3 separate regions of the Homo sapiens genome follow, and regions 1 and 3 are each linked to region 2. Evidence: promoter capture Hi-C in human tissues and cell types (Jung and others, 2019). All regions are on one chromosome and are shown on one strand. The core of a region is centred on a gene start or on the middle of the fragment in contact, and the rest is flanking DNA. Distances in the headings are between cores, read along the strand shown.

The links. Contacts are between HindIII fragments. The study calls those that stand out against the background at their distance.
Region 1: a contact is called between a fragment that was not itself captured here and the fragment with the promoter of RCAN2 in region 2, in 1 of the 25 tissues and cell types used here (hippocampus).
Region 3: a contact is called between a fragment that was not itself captured here and the fragment with the promoter of RCAN2 in region 2, in 1 of the 25 tissues and cell types used here (psoas muscle).

What each region holds. Positions count from the first base shown.
Region 1 is chr6:46,455,280-46,459,829 of GRCh38, forward strand. RCAN2 (regulator of calcineurin 2) reads right to left here. Exons shown (of 5, transcript NM_001251974.2): 2 at 1,473-1,699. The coding sequence starts at 1,697. Among named protein-coding and RNA genes, the nearest start is that of RCAN2, 34 kb to the right of the region's middle. RefSeq lists enhancers at 3,194-3,694, 3,695-4,195. The HindIII fragment of the contact is 8,684 bases long and covers 1-4,550 here.
Region 2 is chr6:46,488,340-46,492,790 of GRCh38, forward strand. RCAN2 (regulator of calcineurin 2) reads right to left here and starts at 3,110. Exons shown (of 5, transcript NM_001251974.2): 1 at 2,834-3,110. RCAN2-DT (RCAN2 divergent transcript) reads left to right here and starts at 3,713. Exons shown (of 3, transcript NR_125837.1): 1 at 3,713-3,788. RefSeq lists silencers at 3,073-3,162, 3,673-3,732. The HindIII fragment of the contact is 8,830 bases long and covers 1-4,451 here.
Region 3 is chr6:46,523,977-46,528,198 of GRCh38, forward strand. The region is part of intron 1 of RCAN2-DT (RCAN2 divergent transcript); the gene reads left to right. Among named protein-coding and RNA genes, the nearest start is that of RCAN2-DT, 34 kb to the left of the region's middle. The HindIII fragment of the contact is 3,073 bases long and covers 602-3,674 here.

The DNA.
Region 1 (4,550 bases), core at 482-2,981, 34 kb before region 2:
TTTCAAGCTATTTTCAGCCCATAATTTCAACAGTTCAACTCCACACTGATATCATTATAAAAATATCTTTAAATGGCTTAAAATAATTCCTAATCCTCTGGGATGGTTTTGTCTGTGGCTATCAGGATTGTCTACAAAATCAATCATATCCGTAAATCAGACTTCCAGTAATTATGCCAGACACAGACTTCAGCAATGGGCAGAAAGAGCTAAAGTCTGTGAAACAGCAACCATAAAGCCTACTCTTATACCTCACACAGAGTCATATACTTTAGTTTAGAAAAAAAAAAGCCTCAGCCGGGCGCAGTGGCTCACACCTGTAATCCCAACACTTTGGGAGGCCGAGGCAGGCAGATTACGAGGTCAGGAGATCGAGACCATCCTGGCTAACACAGTGAAACCCCATCTCTACTAAAAATACAAAAAATTAGCTGGGCGTGGTGATGGGCGCCTGTAGTCCCAGCTACTCAGGAGGCTGAAGCAGGAGAATGGCGTGAACCCAAGGAGGTGGAGCTGGCAGTGAGCCGAGATTGCACCACTGCACTCCAGCCTGGGCAACAGAGCGAGATTCCGTTAAAAAAAAAAAAAGAAAGAAAGAAAGAAAGAAAAAGAAAAAGAAAAAAAAAAGGCCCTTTATCCAAAAAATTTTGTCCATGTTTCAGTAGTATAATAGTGGCTTTTACAACTAAGAATCTACATCTACAAGGGAAGGTTTAATCCATTTAGATACCCCATTCAAAGGTCAGAGAAATCTGAAATAAACTTTGGAAAGGTCTCCAAATGGAATATTTACTGTGATTGCCAAAAACATTTACACTAAGTTAAGTCTGTTTCTTAAAATGGGAAGCTGGAAAATGTTAATACATAGACAACCTCATTCCCCTATCATTTCAAATTGAGGAGTTGCTGCTTCATTCAAATTCTTACAACACACACATGGCAATACCACCATGGTATCAATGAGCAAAGAAGGACTCAGATGCCAACCAACTTACCTTCTCTAATATCTACTGTGAGACTTGGCTCACAGTTTAAGAAGGCTTTTTTAGAACATTCGTCAAGCTGCGGGAAGGCTGGAGGTAAAATGGAGTTTGTATTGTTTTGAGAAAGGCAAATTATATTTATGGCAGAATAGAGGAAAAGGAAACTTTTAGGAGTTTAAGACATCTGCTTCCTAGCCTAAGGGGCATTTCCTACAATCCATATTAACACCATTTGTTTTGCTAGATAGACCTGTGAGTCACAGAGGACTCAATTTGATTCAACATATTCTCATCTACAACCCTGTCAGATGTATCTCTAAAGTTAGTTGATAATAGAATGGGATTTTCTTATCCTGGTACACATGCCAAAAATAGAGCCAACTAAACATTTCCAAAAACTTCAAAACACCAACCACAAATGAACAACAGGATTACTTGGAGATAATGCCATATCTCCCCATGTTTTAGGAACAGAAAAAGGCAGCTTACCTTGCTCTCTTCTCCTTCAAACACTGACTGGTGAACATTGCACGCAAACAACGAGTTGGGGAGGTCATTGAAGTCAGTGATTGCTTGAAAGGCTTCTTCTGCAAAACAACGAGTGACAGCCCAGTCCCTGTCTATGCAGCACAGTAAGAAAAGTCCTCCATCTTCAGGGACGTGTCCCTGCTGCCCTGGGCTCCTCATTCCGATGAAGTATGATTCTCCCCTCATTCCTGGGGATACAAAGATGAGCATGTGTTACTGCAGAACAAATTCCTTAAAACTCAGTTTTCGGGTCACAGTTTTGTATTGTCAGGGGCAGAACAGTGGAGTACGATTAGGAGCAGAGGCAGGGGATATTGGAAGGGAGAAGATCTGCAAGTTCACATGGTTCCCTTGATCCCTGAACCAGAATTTCCCATACAGCTCTGCTCTGGGGCAAGAACCGAGTCAGTACTATGGTTTTTTAAAACAAACAGACAAACAAATAGGTATAGGAAATGGAGATCACCACCACTACTACCAATGTCTATCGTGTATTGAGTTCCAGGCACTATTCTAAATGATTTATATAAATTTAGAACATCAATTACATACATTAACTACCTTATTTAATCTCCACAATAGTCTATAAGGTTGGTACCAATATTTTCCCCAATTTACAGATGGGAAAACAGGAAGAAAGCAATTAAGTAACTTTTACAAGACCACTGACAAAATGGCAGGGCTAGGATTCAAACTCAGGGAAACTGGCACCAGAGCTCACTCTCCTATGCCACAGGAATGAAGCAGATCAAAATAAGTAGAAGCCTATATTTAAGAAAGTATGATCTACTTCATCAGCACCTGAATCCTGATCATGATAACTCTAACAGGTAATAGTTCATCCTGTGAGAGTACAGTGAGAGTAAACACACCACACACACACACCTCCCAGATATTTCCTCTTCTGACTGAGATAATTACTTCAAGTCATTTGTGAACCAGGTCCAGATCCTAAAAAAATCAGTGCTATCTTGATCAATCCATGGTGCACAGGTCCCCGTCCCTCCTTGCCTTGTAAGGCTTTCCAGTATTGATTTCACCTAGCTGTGTTCAACCCTTCTATTATTTTTTCACCCCTTATATTTGCAGTTTGCCTAACTGCAGAGTTTTTCCATTTTTTTGATACTGGTACATAATTTAGTGGATTAGGTCAGTATCCCCATATAGTCCAAGGCTGGTATCTACTTTCTTCTTTTGTACCGATTTTCATGACTGTGATACTATTCTGCTCAAAGCTCAATAGTTAAGAGGCTCGGAAAGTGAAATAACTTGCTCATGGTTACGCAAGTAAGACTGACTGAAAATTATGACATGGCTACTGAATCATCTTCAGGAAGCTCCATGTTCTTCAGTCCCATCATCACAGATGCTCAGAGCAAAGGACAGAAAGGTGGGTACCACTAAACATCAATCTGCTCTCATGAAGTTTAGCTAGATACAAATTCCAGATCCCCAGACAAAATATCAGTTTCTGCTTATCTCTCTCTTGAACTGTGAAATAAACCCTTGAACCTCATAGTGATGAGGTTATGTTTTTTATTTTCATTTTTCCTAGAAAAGCCCCAATGAGAGTTGGTAAGCAGCATTTTCTGGCAATAATGCATTACATATAAAATCTTAAGCCCGGTTGAGGTAGGAGCCAAAAATTAAATAGTTTGAGGTGATATCTCTAAAATCAAATCATCAAAATTGTGGTAAGTAAAAATTTCTATATAAAATATAATAAAACAATTCTTGCACTCCAAAGTTCTTCAAACTCCAATTAGCGCATTTCCATATTTAAATCAACAAAATACTTATTTTAAATAAAAATATGGTACATGTTTTATTAAATAATCTAAAATATATGAATATTTTTAACTAGAAGGAAAAACATGTAATAGCATTAATATAAAGGGAATTGAACTGCTAGACAACTTCAATGAAACATGTGCATGTATTTTCTTTCATATTTATTTATACTGTTGCTTGAATATTTTAGCATAAAACACCTAATTACCGTCATTTATTAGAGTATCAATTGTTTTAATAGTAAAAATATTTAGTAAAAGCATCATCAAAACACTAGCATTTTCATTAATAGTTTACAGGAAAACGCGCGCGCACGTGTGTGTGTGTGTGATGGAGTTTTGCTCTTGTCGCCCAGGCTGGAGCGCAATGGCGCAATCTTGGCTCACTGCAACCTCCACCTCCCGGGTTCAAGTGATTCTCCTGCCTCAGCCTGGGCCTTCCAAGTAGCTGAGATTACAGGCACGTGCTACCACGCCCGGTTAGTTTTTGTATTTTTAGTAGACACAGGGTTTCACCACGTTGGCCAGGCTGGTCTCGAACTCCTGACCTCAGGTGATCCACCCACCTGGGCCTCCCAAAGCGTTGGGATTTCAGGCATGAGCCACTGCACACAGCCAGGAAACTCTTTTGATAATGAAGTCATAATCATTCAGCAGCATACAAATAGATGCTGTGTCAATTTGAATTTTATTTTTAATCTCATCCCTCTTATTTAAAATATTTTAAGTGAATCAAAACATTATAAAACACTCTTAGATGTGTTGTAAGAATGTTTCAATTATTATTTTTCCAAAAAAAATCTAAAATCCATTGCCGAACAAATTAATTAAATAGATCAAATTTTAAGCTTAACTCAGGACTCATTTTAATCTACTCAAATAGCCTTAATTTCTATCCTAAGCTGTAACAATATTATCTTCATGAGATTTTATTTTAAGCTCATTACTTTCAGTAAAGATTTAAGGGTGAATGCATTTTTGGCAAACAACCTACTTTACTTACATGGAGAAATACTTTAGAAGTCAGAGCTTTGAACAAAGAAATTCTAATTTCTCTTTCTAGTTTCATTACTAACTCACCCCATAATTTGGAGAAGCCAAGTGATCATTCTGGAACTCAGTTTATCCTTGTAAAACAACAACAAAACAACATTGAACTGCCTCCTTCTGCAGAGTAAGGGGAGGCAGGGGAATGAAACAGGAGCGGAAGACGTGATCAAAATCAGTATTAACCACTACATAAAAGAAT
Region 2 (4,451 bases), core at 1,860-4,359:
CAGATGTGATAAACCAGGTACAGTTCTAACTTCCTTGTGTTCAGTATGTAGTAAGCACTGAATAAATGTTAGATATTATCATTATCATTATTATCACTGTTACCACTAGTAGTAGTTCAAATAACTGAGTTCATACTACCACTTTTGGGGATAAAGGTAGAAACAACTTCCTGCTATTAAGTTTGTCTCTCCTTCTTCTCTAAAAGCAACCTTACACAGTCTCAGAAATGAAGAGAAGTAAGATCAGTAGAAGGTTAGCACCAGAAATGAAGAAATTACATTTGAAAATAAAAGTGCCTACTGAACATTTTCATTTGGTTGTTCAAAATAAAAATTCTCCATCTTTCTCAAGTCTCCTCTTATTTACTCCCTCAGTTAAAAGCCTGACCATCCTCTAGACATCTAAGCTTCTCCTTCCATACCACCATCCACTTGGTGACCAATGCTACCGATCCTCCCCCTGAAATGGCTCTGTATAGATCTCTTCTCTTTCCTCCAGGCCATCTGGTTCAGGCACATTTCATAAGTTTTCTGGTTTTTGTTTTGTTTTGGTCTGTGCCACTCCAATGGTCTAAAGTCTCCTCATTCCTTTTTGCAACCCCACCTCCTCACACCTCCACAGTCACTTTTGCAAAATGTAAGTTAGATGAAATCATTCCTACCATTAAGGGCCACATGGTTTCTCCTCCTTAGCAGGGTATATTCACAATCCAGCTTCAGTGAAACCTTTCTAAACATTCCTGTCTTCCCTCAGAACATGTAGGTGTCCTCTGAATGTGACCTTTCTGCCATGTGTGTATGCTGTTCCTTCAGTGTGGAATACCCAGCCCCTTCTCTAGACAACTCCTACCACCTATTGGGATCCAGACCAAATGTAAACTCTTCTTTAAACTCTTCCAGATTCCCTCCACTCTTTCTTCTGTTGGCTCCCATTAAACTTGTTTCTGTCTTCATTAAACACTCATGATGTTGAATCATTACCATTTATTTTCTTCTCCTTTTCTGCTAAATTGATTTCTGGGAGGCATGGGCCTCATTCTTTTAGCCTCTGGCACAGGACCTACAAAGCACACAGGAGGTGCTCAACAAATAATTATTGAATTGATCGAGTGGATGCTACAGAACGTAAAATAGGAAAATGAGACCTCGGTGATTGTCAATGTTAGTCTCAATAAAAAGAATTTGTGATATGTATGACTGTCTGCAAATGATTACACAAGTGGTTTTTAACACCGTGATGTGCACTTACAAATGAGAAAGCTCTCGAGTTCCCACTTCTGTCTGTTACACGTTCATCACTGGAGAAAGAGTCATGCCCTCCCAAATTTAGGTGAGTTCTGGAGGACCTGCACACACTAAGCATTTTGAGAGCTCTCAGAATCATGTAGCTTTAGATGAGAACACTTTTCCCTCACAAAATTCTATGGACTGGACTCAGGTAGTAGATGCTCAGTAAATGCTGATTTGATTTGCAGTGGATTTGAATGCAAAGTGCAACTCACATTTTAGACTAATTGAACTCAATGGCTGATCATACTTAATATAATAGCTCTAAGGCTAAAGAAAATCAATGACTACACTGAAAAGCAGCCAAATGCTCACTCTCCTGCCTAGTTGACAGTCAATGCTGACCTGCCTCTTGATCCTTTCCAGCTTTTGGGTATTTCCAACTTCACTGTGCCCCCAGAATGCAGAGGCCGGTTAGCAAGTGTTGCGTGGTACCTTGTGGTACATTTGTTCTTCGTTTTGAAGTGATGTAATAAAGGATAACAAAGGTGTGAAACTTGAGTTGCACTGTTAAAGTTGTCCTACATTTCCTAAAGCCTCCCCTCTGCATGATAAGTTGAGTGAAATTCTGGCTGAAGGGAGAGAGAAGTGTGAGCTGGAATGCTGTGACATCCCTTCATCTCCAATTGTGGAAAACTGTGGGAATGCATATTAAAGGAACCCCAGAAACTTTTGTTTTTACTAAACTGAGACTTAAAAAAACTTCATTTGGCAGTTGAACACCTCTATCCCATTGTAAGAAACAGGAAAGATTCAAAGCATGCATTCTGCTATAATTCATTTTGGGATAAGAAATAGGCAGAAGTACCTCGAAGAATAAATCATTAACTAAAAGGCAAACCGAGGCACCCTGGAAACCAGCGAGACCTGGAGGCGGCCGAGGGATCAGGCGGCTGGGATTTGCCTGTTCCCTCTGGTGACTTCTGGAGCGAAGCATCCCACAGGCAGGACGAACCCGGCACACTGCGCTCCGCTCCATTTCACTTTTCAAACTTGAAGTTATTTTTAGATGACCCAAGGCCGCTAATCCCAAGCAGGACAATTCTCAGCCCGCTGCACCTCAGTGCACCTACCCCCTCCCCAGCCTCTGCATTGGGAAGAAGGGATCTCTCGATCTTCTTTGCTCTCTGCATCCAGTTAGTCTCTTCTAGACCCTCTCTAAGCCTCAGTCCCGGGGATCACAGGCGTCATCCTCGCTCCTTCACTTATGCACCTGCTGCTGCTTCCAGGAAGGCAAACCCCCGGGCCACGGGCAGTGGGGAAGGGGCTCCTTTGGACCCGCGCCCCCTAGAGGGGGGTCGCGGGAGATCTCCGTCCCCACGGCCGCAGCCGGGACTGACCACAGATCTGGAGACAAACCCCACCCCCGCCACTGCCCCCACCCCCGCCACCGCCCCCGCCCCCGCCCCCGCCCCCGCCCTGCACCCAGACCCGGCCCGGAGACCAGATCCCCGCCGCGGACCCCCGGCACGACCCCGGGGCTGCTGTCAGCCCCGGCGGGACGGGGTGCCTGGGCGAGCCTGGCCGGCGCGGTTACATAACCGACCTGCTGGGCGTCCGCGATGCGCCGGCGGAGGCGGAGGCGGAGGCGGCGGCTGGGGCGTCTACGGGGGCCAGCTGCTAGCGCGCGGCGCTGCCTGCTCACCTGCCCGCCGGTGCGAGCGCGTGGGGGCGGCGCGGTGCCCGCGGGCCTTTGCGTGGGGCCGTACGCGGCGCGGCGCGCCCCGCCTCCCTCTCTCTGCCGCCGTGGGTCAGTGGGATTCTGCCTGCTGCCCGCTCCTCCCCGCAACCTCCGCCGCCGTCACCCGGGACAAAGCGGCTCCAGGGAGGGGCTGAGCCGGCGGCTCTCGCAGGAGCCGGCGGAGATGGGCGCGTCCCCAGCTCCGACTCATCGGGCCAACCTCCAATCAGACCCAGGGAAACCGAAAGCCCCTGTCTGGCCTCTTCTCATCTCCTCCCTCCTGACCCGGCGCCCTCCCCAGTCCCCTACCCACCGCACCTCCGGGGCTCTCACCCTGCCCTCAGCCCCGCACCCCCTCCTTTCCACTTCAGGTGCCCGGGAGGGCGCAGGAGCCTCCGGGCACCTGGCGTGGGAGCCTGGCTGCAGGAGTCCCGGCCTCAGCGGGAAGAGGCTCCTCGGGGTCCCATACTAAGCTGAGGGTGAGGGGGCAGCGACAGCCCAGAAGAAATGGTCAGAGAAGCAAACTGTGGTGGGGGAGTACTGGGAGAAAGACTCTTCTTACCAGATGTCTGAGCCCCCCGACTCTGGCTAACTGAGGAAATGTCGGGGAGCCCCTGGATGGTCCTCCCGGGCTTCTGCGCTTGGTGGGCGCTGGCGCCCTCTGGCTGGAGCCCTGCGCCCGGCCCAGCCCAGGCCGCTGAGGGTGCCCTGCGCGGGCTTCACAGCTTTGCCAGGATTTGCAGCCATCAGACCTGAGGACAGAAGGGTTCGGGCTGCAAGGAATCCTATTGTGTGAGAGCCATGACACAGTGAGTGGGAGGTTGGTATCCTACAGCAAACGGGACTGAAGGTGAATCGCAATCTAGGGTAGATCTGTTGCTCAACAAAGTTAACCCCAGTAGAAGTCTCTGCTTTACGGAATAAAGCAACTCAAATGGGTAAGGAAGCCTGTGGCTTACGGGTGGCACAGATAGGAACAGGACTGAGTCTCATGGCAAGAGAATGTGAATTATGCAAAAGATCATAGGAGAGTGCGGGAAATTAAAGGAAGGAGGTGTGCAGACCAATCTGAGGGAGGGAGTGAATAACATTTAAATCAGGTTTGTGTTCTGTCATCTTTCGAATTGCTGCATAAATAAGCCGTTTTCTTTTTGCTTTTTATGCCTTTTGATTTTCTGATAACAATATTACGATTGCACTGAAGCAGTCCATTCACAATCATTCTTCACTTACCCACACTACGTTGTTTTTTTCCAAAGTTGACATACAATCACGTTTTGTTTGTTTTCAACAAAAAAAGGTAGACGAGACGTTGGCTCTTCTCTCTGATTAATCTGCATTAACATAAACACAATTTCAGAATTGAAAATGACCTTAGGCTTCCCCTCGTTCAGCCTTCCCCTGGATGCATAAATCTGTAATTAGTCGTTGATTTAGATAATTGCCATTTGGGTTAGAATTGTCTGAAAGGGCATTCTTAAGT
Region 3 (4,222 bases), core at 888-3,387, 35 kb after region 2:
TTAAGGAAATCTTCAACAACAAATCTAGATCTTTCCATAACTGGTCCTTTCCTATCACTCAGGAATTCTCTGACCATCCAATCTCAGCCTCTTTTTGCCTCCTTCACATTCCTTGAATCAATTTTTATTACATAACCCTGTTTAATTTTCCTCATAGTATTTATCAGTATCTGAAATCATTTTACTGTTTTGTCTTGACTTAGAATCTAAGACGCATGAAAGTTGAGTCATTTGTATTTCCAACAGCTACTATGGTGCCAAGTACATATAGAATAGAAAGTTATTTCATTCATTCATGTATTCATTCATTCAACAAATATTTACTGAAAATTTCCCATGTGCCCAAAACCATTCTAGTTCTAGATCCAGCAATGAGTAAAACAGACATCAGTTTACTCCTCGAATTGTGTGTACATTAGATTTGTTTTATGTAAACAAGACTTTGCATTCCCTTTGAAGGTGGCATGTTTTAAACCAGTGTAGTTATTATTTAAAATTCAAATTATTAATAACTAATTTACCTAATTTTGTAAACATAAATTTTCATATGGCTTGTTTTTCTGTAGTTTGTAGTTATTTGTTTAAAATCAAAGAGCCAAAAATTTTATGTGTATCATCTCTTTTAATCCTGACAACAGACCTGCAGAGTGGAGACTATTACCTCCATTTGATACATGAGGAAAGTGGGGTTATAGAAATAACTTTCCCAAGACACTTAACTGGTAGATAGGTAATATCTGAATATAAGTCCAGTAGATTTGAAATCAAAGCCCACATCCTTTTCTACCACATCCACTGCCTACTTTGATATTAGTATAACCCAACAGTTATTAATAGAGAAAAAAGCAAGAAGCACCAAAAAAATGCCTTAAGTCAATGGGTCCCTTGTGTTGCATTTTGTGACTGTGTGAATTCCCTCTGATTCTTTGCATTTGGACTCCATTTTGAAGTTCTGGGCAATCCATCTTATTACCTCCCAGCGATCCATCAGGACCACAGGCAGGTGTCTGCACCACCTCAGAGGTAGTGACTTCTATATTTCTGACAGTTACTGTCTTCCCGGAGAATAAGGCCATGTGGTATATTTTGTTGCAAGGATGCTGCAAAGGGAAGATAAAACCAACAAAGGAGCTGAAAGAAATCAAAGAAAAGAGGACAATAAGGAGAATAAAGACAAGTTCAAAATAAGCTAAATTTAGAAATCGCTTGAAGCTCCATTGTTCGAGTTACAAAACTTGTCTTGCTTTCCAGCAGTCCAAGTTCTGCTGACTTGATGTGTGACCTTACCAGGTCTCCTTGCCCTTCTCGGTGTCAAGTTTATGACACTATGGAGGGTGAAACCAGTCCTGGGCTGCTGAACTCTGGCTTCTTTAATGTGGGATAATGAACCTGGTATGTTTACATAATTGTTATTTGGGATTTTTCCATTATATACAGCCAAATATAATTCTAATTGATACAATCAGTGTATGTTTTTAGTATTTAAAAAGCTACATTTGAAAAAATCCTTGAGAATTGACAAAATATTCAAAGAATTTCAAAAGTGGCAGTATAAATACTTATGAGGAAAAGAATACTAAGGAAGAAGGAAAGAAGAGAGGAGAAGGAGGGAGGTTGATCAGACTGAGGATGAGGAAGAAGGAGGAGGAGAAAAAGGAAGAGAAGAAGGGGGAGGGGGGAGGGAAGTGGAAGAGGAAGGAGGAATTAGATAAAGAAGAAGATAAAGAAGAAGGAGAAGAAAAAGAAGAAGGAGAAGAAGAAAAGAAGAAGAAGAAAAGAGGAAGGAGAATAAGAAGAAGAATAAAGAAAAGGAGGAAGAGAGTGGAGAAAGGGGAGGAACAATAACAGCAAGAAAAGGACAAGAAGGAAAAGATTCCATTCAAATGTAGACTGAAACTCCTTCACTGACATTTAAATCATATTTGCCAAAATCTTGGTAACTGTGGAGCTCTCCTTATTTATAGAATACAATTTTTCCCAAAGATTTCATTATTACATTCTTCTAGCATTCCCATCCAAATCCATAAAACTAAGGCTCAAAGTTCCTACTGCATATATTAGATTGGTGCAAAATTAATTATTTTTAATGGCAAAAACTGCAATTACTTTTGCACCAAGCTAACAATGAGCCAGTAACATTTTTCTCTTTTAAGCTAACTTGATCAAACCCAGAGAGGTCATTCATTAACTCAATTTTATCAATTAATACTAATCTAAGTATTCTGGTAATGTTTACAAATGAACCTTCTTTTCACTTTCCTCACTGAGGCCAAAATCTTCCTGGGGTTTGTATCTGACTTCAATATTTTCTTCAAGCTTCATGTCAAAACTGTTTCTCTCTGTCCCTTTGATCCCTCCCATCTGAAATAGGTTGGCCCTACCCTGAGAGTCTACAGGTCCAATCCTATCCACCAAAGACTGGTTAGAAGGTGCTTGTGGAGGATGACGGCTATTCCCTAAAAGAAGACTATAAGGCTTGCCACACTGATACTTGGCTAGGGTGTATGACTTGCTTTGGCCAATGCAAGTGGGACAAAAAGAAAATGTGAGAAATAGAAAAGCTTCTGTTCACTCCCACTCCTTGATTAGAGAAACAGTCTCTGGCAGAAGGAGAGAAAATATGAAGGGAAAATAAAGAAGAGAGGTCACAGGGGAAAGAGGAGGCGGCATGACCTGAAGGGAACAGGAAGAGGACCCAGGTCAGTGTCTGAGGATGGCCCAGCCTCTATTTCATCAATATCTCCATTGGCCACAGCTGGGGACAAAAGGAGGAGCCATCGTAGTGCCCCAGGCTACACTTTGGGAGCCCTGTACTCAACTGCCACACTAGCTTTCCTTCCTGCTGGCACAGGATGAAGATTTTACTTCAGCAACAATGGCACTTTGCCTGTTTATCAGTAGGTGTGATCTTCATTTGAGCCCTGTATCTTTGTTTCAGCCAAGATCCACTTGCTTTTTGTGAATAATCCCCTACCTTATCCTCCACCACCTGCCAGCTGCCTCTACCACTCACAACACTCAGAGGCCCTCAGGACCCAGCAAGCTTGCAGGATAAAGCTAAATGGTAAGGCGAAGCCTTCCAGGCTTGGGTTTTGCATGGGCTAAACAAATTCAGCCCTAAACTGTCACCATGGTTGAATATCCTGCTGTCATTCTCACTATTTGTTAAGCCTGAGCTTGCTCCTCTGATGCTCAATCTTTTGGTTTAGCAGCTGTCTTCAGGTTCATGTTCCTACATGTGTCTCCCCTTCGGTAACTGACCCTTGGCTTCATTTGCAGGTTCCAGTGCCTAATATGACTACACAAAACCATTTCATTTCCCTTCATATTGCGGTCAGCTCAGTCCTGGATCAGCCATCCTTCTCCACCTGGCAGCCTTTTTGCCTTCTGCAGATGAGCTTTCTTTTTAGCACAAGAATTAGAGAGGAGCTAATCAACATTGAGCAATTCACAATCACAATGTTGTATTCTTATTTTCTTCTTTACTGGAGAAGAAGCCAAAACAAAAGAAAAACAAATTGTTACAGAGATTCACATGTGAAATCTCCTGGTTTTGCAAGTCAGAGGGCAGTCAGTCTAGCATCCTTTGCTCCAGCCCCATCCTGTATTTGGCTTTTGAAGCTAGTGCTTGTGTTGTTATTAATTTGCACCAAAAGGATGCTTAGCAACAATCAAACATGATGTATTAAATATGAAACTACTTTCTGAAGGAGCTCAGAATCACAAAACAAGCTCGTTGGAACAAAGCTCTTGAAAACCCATGTAAATAGAACATAAAAATCTGAAAGATACATGACGATCATTTCACCACATTCCATTTATTGGTGAATAAGCTAGAGTAAATCAAATCAATTAAAGTTTTAAACAGGTCTAAATTAATTTGTCTTCATTTCATTTTATGGTATTTGCTCTCCAAACTGAGAAAACTCAGTTTAGTTTTCTTCATGGCATGGTAACAGAAATAATTTTCAAGTGATGTTGAGGCTTATTTAAGTCTGATCCAAATGACAACATAGCATTTAAATTATGTTATATAACTCTTATGTAAACGTACAAGATAAGTTATCTGCTGGAACTAACAACTTCCAAATTTTAGTGACTTAACATTGTAAAAGTATATTATTTCCTATTTTTACATTTTAATGTGGGTTGTGCTGGGAGGAGGTGACCCTTCTCCATACAGTCATTTAGGGATCCAGACTTTTTCTATTTGTTTCTCCAC